Linked DNA regions of Homo sapiens: region 1 is linked to region 2. The links are contacts of gene promoters, found by promoter capture Hi-C in human tissues and cell types (Jung and others, 2019). All regions are on one chromosome and are shown on one strand. The core of a region is centred on a gene start or on the middle of the fragment in contact, and the rest is flanking DNA. Distances in the headings are between cores, read along the strand shown.

Region 1 (2,940 bases), core at 260-2,759, 1.3 Mb after region 2:
GCCGATGCTCAAAATATAGTGAATAGCAGAGGAAAGGCAAGTGTTACAAGAGAAAGAAAGTATACTGTTACTTATGAGCAACTAGTAGAGCTCTATTAAAGAAATTCTCTGAACCATTTTCAAAAACTGAAAACCAACTGATTACTATTAAGGTGAGCTTATTTCTTTGAGAAGAGATAATAAAAATATTGCTTAATTTCAGTTTCTAAAGCTATTTTTCATTTGGCTGCTTCATTTAAAATGCCTCTATTTTTCTATTCATACTTAATAACTGTAGCAGTAAATGTAGGTATTTGGTTTCAACAAATGCTCTTACCTCAGATTTCAACTTGTGTATAAATTAAAATGTCTAAGCTTCTCCCCTACCCCCAAAAACCAGACCTTTAATCTAGCTTTTTTTGAAGTTGCATTTTAATAAGATGCCACTAAGCCACCTGATGTCTCTGGGTTCCATTTGTTATTTACAAAAGAGCAAGGAAGTTAGACCAGGCATTTTCATTGATCTCTTCTCTAACTATGAGTCAGAAAAACCTAAAGAAACAAAGCAGAATTTTATTTCGGGAAATATGCTTACACTTCGGCTCAGATATTGGCTACAAATGTGCTACTCACCTTCTGAGGGTTCAGAACTTTAATGACTTGTGTGATGGTCCCCGTGTTAAATGCTGGGACAATGCTGCTGCTAGGAGACAAGAGCTGCAGCTGGAATGTCTAGGGGGGAACAAAGGGCACTCTTCAGAAAAAGAATTACACAACGCTAGGTCAGAGATACCAAAAACCATTTAGACACCCAGATGATGGGTCAAGCAACAGATTTCACTACTACTAAGTTTTGCCTACTACTTGTTTTCTAGATATCAGGAATTCACAGCACGTGAGTTGACTCCCTGTGGTATTTGTAAAAATCCACTGTTCGGTTCTTTGATCATGACAACTAGTAATAAACCACATTCTCCTTTCTGGCAGAAGGAATTCTAGCCTACCTCTTTTCAAAAGCTGACCAATTCTTCTTCTGGCAACTTCACTTAATGGTAACTGATCAACTATGCAAGTAAAATATCGGTGCTTTTGGCTTAAAAAACAGCCAGAAAGAAATGAAAAGAAAAGCTTCCCAAAAATAGCAAACCAACATACTGGTCACCAACTATAAGCTTTTAGGCTTTTGTGTGATTGGATAACTGGGATGCAGAGACTTGAACTTTTGTTTTTTAAAGCCTGCATAATCTATAATGTGTCAGAGCCTCCTCTCCACATGACAGAAGGAACGGAAAGACTTGCAGAACCAGCCTATACAGCAAAAGACCTAGATAAGCCAAACAGTATTAATTTGTTGAATGCTGGTGGGGTTTATTTGCTTGCTTATAGAAATAAGAGTTGAAAGTGCTGGCTGGGTGTGGTGGCTCAAGCCTGTAATCCCAGCACTTTGGGAGGTCAAGGCGAGCGGATCACGAGGTCAGGAGTTCGAGACCAGCCTGGCCAACACAGTGAAACCCCGTCTCTACTAAAAATACAAAAATTAGCTGGGCATGGTGGCACATGCCTGTAGTCCCAGCTACTCGGGAGGCTGAGGCAGGAGAATCGCTTGAACCCAGGAGGTTGTGGTGAGCCGAGACTGTGCCACTGCACTCCAGCCTGGGCAACAGAGCAAGACTCCGTCTCAAAAAAAAAAAAAAAGTGCTATATAGGGCAAGCTAGGTAAACCATACTGTACTACGTAGCTATTGTATGAACTAGCATTTGAAAATCTTTCCTAAAAGTAGATTAAACTTCTAAAATATTTGAGAGAGAGAGACACTAGTCTTCTCTAGGGCCAAAAGTTGCAAGAGTGAAGATTCACTCTCAATGTACAGATATATTACACTGGGGGCTGGGCACGGTATTCCCAGCACTTTGGGAGGCCAAGGCGGGCAGATCACCTGAGGTCAGGAGATCTAGATTAGTCTGGTCAACATGGCAAAACCCCATCTCTACTAAAAATACAAAAATTAGCTGGGTATGGTGGCGCATGCCTGTAATCCCAGCTACTCAGGAGGCTGAGGCAAGAGATTTGCTTGAACCCAGGAGGCAGAGGTTGCCTGGGTGACAGAGTGAGACTCCATCTCAAAAAAAAAAAAAAAAAAAATATATATATATATATATATATATATATATGGTCTTATTCATAATTCTGCCACATTAAAATTATGTAAGCTAAAGTATTATTCATTACTACCATATTTCATTAAATGTAAGATACCAATCGTAATTCACACCATTATTTTATGTACCACTGAGATAGAAAACATGCTGCCCACTGAATTATGACAAGATACCAATTTTTAAATGTATCCTAATTTTAGAAACATTAAAACACGAAATTAGTACATAGTAGAACCTATAAAATATGACTTTTTTTTTTTTTTTAGATGGAGTCTCGCTCTGTCGCCCAGGCTGGAGTGCAGTGGTGCGATCTCGGCTCACTGCAAGCTCCATCTCCCAGGTTCATGCCATTCTCCTGCCTCAGCCTCCTGAGTAGCTGGGACTACAGGCGCCCGCCACCACGCCCGGCTAATTTATTATTTATTTATTTATTTATTTATTTATTTATTTATTTATTTATTTATTTTTTGAGACGAGTCTCGCTCTGTTGCCCAGGCTGGAGTCCAGTGGGGTGATCTCGGCTCACTGCAAGCTCCACCTCCCGGGCTCACGCCATTCTCCCGCCTCAGCCTCCCAAGTAGCTGACACTACAGGCGCCCGCCACCACGCCCGGCTAATTTTTTTTTTTTTTTTTTTTTTAGTAGAGACGGGGTTTCACCGTGTTAGCCAGGATGGTCTCAATCTCCTGACCTCGTGGGATCCGCCTGCCTCGGCCTCCCAAAGTGCTGGGATTACAGGCGTGAGCCACCGCGCCCAGCAAAATATGACATTTTAAGTTGAAAATACATTATCATGTTGCAC
Region 2 (2,734 bases), core at 223-2,722:
ACCGCCCACATACTCTGTGCCTTCCTCCACAGAGAGATCAGGGCAGCCAGCAGGCATCCCTCCCTGAAAGGGCAACCCCTCCAAAGTTAGCAGCAGAAGCAAGATGAAGCTTAGGGGTGTGGTCTCCCAGACTCCTCTTATGCCACCATCTCTCTAAAAACCAGCGATACCTTCCACCTGAGAAGGGCTTCAGAGCCCACCAGGCAAGGAAGGGGTGGCCAACCAGCTTCCAAACATCCGTCCCAAAGACGAGGCGGGAGTGTGTTACTGGCCAGAGGTCCCAGAGTGCCCTGTACTCCCCCGGAGGCTTTGACTGAAAAGAGGCCCCAGGTCCCTGCCTGCCCCCAGCACCTCTCTAGCCCCTTTCTCCAACACCACCTTTGACTCAATCCTCCGCTCCTTTACGCAGCTGTAAAGCAAGAGGGAAGATGGGAGACGGGAGATGGATGCAGTTGGCAAAAGATAAATCGAAAGGCTAACTTGAGCAAGCAAGCAATTGGTGCTGACTCCTCTACAGGCAGAGGGAACCCGGAGTGGGTTATGCGAAGGAGGGAAGGCCAACAGGAGCGGCAGGAAGCTAAGGGGAGACTCAAGTGAGCTCAGCCCAGAGCTGTAGCAGGGGGTGGGAAGTTTGGTCCAGTCACAGGGGAATGACTGGGGGTAAGAAATGACTTCCATTCCAAGGCAGAGAAGGAACAGGAGAGAGGAGAGACGAGGTTCAGACCAGCCTCCACGGGACTGGCGCTTTGGCCAAGTTTCTGGCTTCAGCCGTGCCTCAGTTTCCCCAAAGTAGGAAGGTCGAGCCGTGAGAACTGGGCCACTGAGGATGGTTAGGGGGCAGTGCCAGGTAGGGGAAAGATCACAGGGGAGAGAGGAAAGAGGAGCTGATGGGGCAGACAGGCTCTGGCCAAGAGTGGGGCCGGGGTCTCCCAGGTGGAGCAGAGGCCGGGAGACCCAGGGTTAGCGGTACGAACTAGGGAGTGGACTGGAAGTCGGGACCAGGGCAGAGAGCTCTTCCGAGGGCTGGGGCTGGGGCTGGGGTTGGGGTTGGGGGCTGCCGGCAAAGGAGCGGAGCGGGAGCCCTGGGAGGCTGGGAGCGGCTGGACGTGCAAAGCAGAAGGCGGGGATCCGGAATGAGGCCAACGCGCGCGGACCCCCGCCCACACGAGGGAGCCCGGCGCCCCGACCCGGGGGAAGTTGCCGGGCTGGAACGGGCCGGTCTGGGCCGCTGGGCCGCGCCAGCTGCCCGCGCAGGGGAGGTCTGGGCAGCCGGGGGCCCGGGGCGCTCTGCATCCCGCCCGCCCTCATCCCACCCGCGCACCTCAGTCAGCGCCCGGCGCCGCGCGGGCCATGCTCGCCGCTCCGGCCGCCGCCGCCGCCCGCGCAGAAAGCCGTCGCCGCCGCCGCCGCCGCCGCCGCCGTCGTCCGGACCCGTTAGCTCGCAGCTCTCTCGTCCGCCCGCCGTGGGCTAGTCCCGCCCTTGCCTGGCCCAACCCTCCCCGAGCGCCGCCGCCGCCGCCGCCTCAGCCCGGCCCCTCCCCCCACCCCTGCCCGGCTTGAAGGGAAGGGTGGGGGACAGGGGCGACTGCCCCCACCCCATTCACATCCTCCCCGTCTCTCCCTCCCTCCGCCCCCCGCACGCGCGCCGGCATGCTGGGATATGGAGTCCAGCGGGCGCTGGGTCGCTAGGGGCGCCCCGCATCCAGGACTACATCTCCCAGAAGACAGCGCGCGCATCCCAGGGATTGTGGGCTTTGTAGTTTCGCTAGGGCTCAGGGGGTCCGCCGTGCAGGAGGGGAGACGGAGGGGGATGGGAAGTCTTCATTCTCAGAAGGCCGGGCTCCAGCGGCTGGAGCAGACGGCCCCGAGCCGGGTTGGATACGTGGGTTCCTAGGGAGGTGCACACTAGCCGAGGACGCCTCTCAGATGCTGCTGTGGCCAGCTGCTGACGAGCCCGGCCGGAGGGCACTGTTCCCACTCGCGCTCTCAAAGAGCCGCGACCTGAGGCCAGCTTGGCTTCACGCCCGGGCTCTGAAAGCCCGAGCTGCGGTGGGGCCGCTGCGCCCTGGCCTGAGGGGAGAGAGACCCCATCAGCGGTGCGAGCGGGGGTTTGGCCTCGCTGGACTTTGTGTTCCCCACCTAGGAAAAGAGGAAAAGGGGGCAGAGTGTCTATTGGTTCCTCATCCACCGGGGCATCTCCCCCTTGCAGGCTCTCTCTTAGATGCCCGTAGCTTCCTGCTGTTGAGGGTAAAGTGAATGCATTTTAAATATTTGCCATGTCTTTTATTAGCCCATCCTTTCCCTAACTTCCGCACCTATTTCAAAACCTTTATGAAACTCCAGGTAGACTGCAGTTTCGCCCTCCAACAGGCTGAAGTGAGGCTGAAGTGGTTCTGAATTTTTGGTGTGTATGGGATCCTCTTGGCCAGCTTGTTTAAACGCAGATTGCTGCCCCCACCCTCAGCTTCTGGTTCTTTTAGCTCTAGGGCAGGCCCCAGAATTGGCATTGCTACCCCGTCTCCAGGTGTTGCTCATGCTGCCGGTTACTACCTTGATAACCTGATAACCTCTGCTGTTGGTGTTTGCTGCTAACACACCGGTATCCTCTTTCAAGGATGGCCCTTGTGTGGGATAATTAATAATGGCCCTGAAGAGCCAAACCCGGAAAGGCAGGGTCCCAGTCTAGTCCCCTTTAGCACAGGAACGCTCTTTGTTTTTGCTCAAGGTCTCACTG

Evidence for each region. Contacts are between HindIII fragments. The study calls those that stand out against the background at their distance.
Region 1: a fragment that was not itself captured here is called in contact with the fragment with the promoter of ST3GAL2 in region 2 in 1 of the 25 tissues and cell types used here (dorsolateral prefrontal cortex).

Annotation. Positions count from the first base shown.
Region 1 is chr16:71,733,997-71,736,936 of GRCh38, forward strand. AP1G1 (adaptor related protein complex 1 subunit gamma 1) reads right to left here. Exons shown (of 23, transcript NM_001128.6): 22 at 613-711. Among named protein-coding and RNA genes, the nearest start is that of PHLPP2, 11 kb to the left of the region's middle. The HindIII fragment of the contact is 3,526 bases long and covers 1-2,940 here.
Region 2 is chr16:70,437,628-70,440,361 of GRCh38, forward strand. ST3GAL2 (ST3 beta-galactoside alpha-2,3-sialyltransferase 2) reads right to left here and starts at 1,473. Exons shown (of 7, transcript NM_006927.4): 1 at 1,322-1,473. RefSeq lists silencers at 1,145-1,344, 1,445-1,624. The HindIII fragment of the contact is 4,621 bases long and covers 1-2,734 here.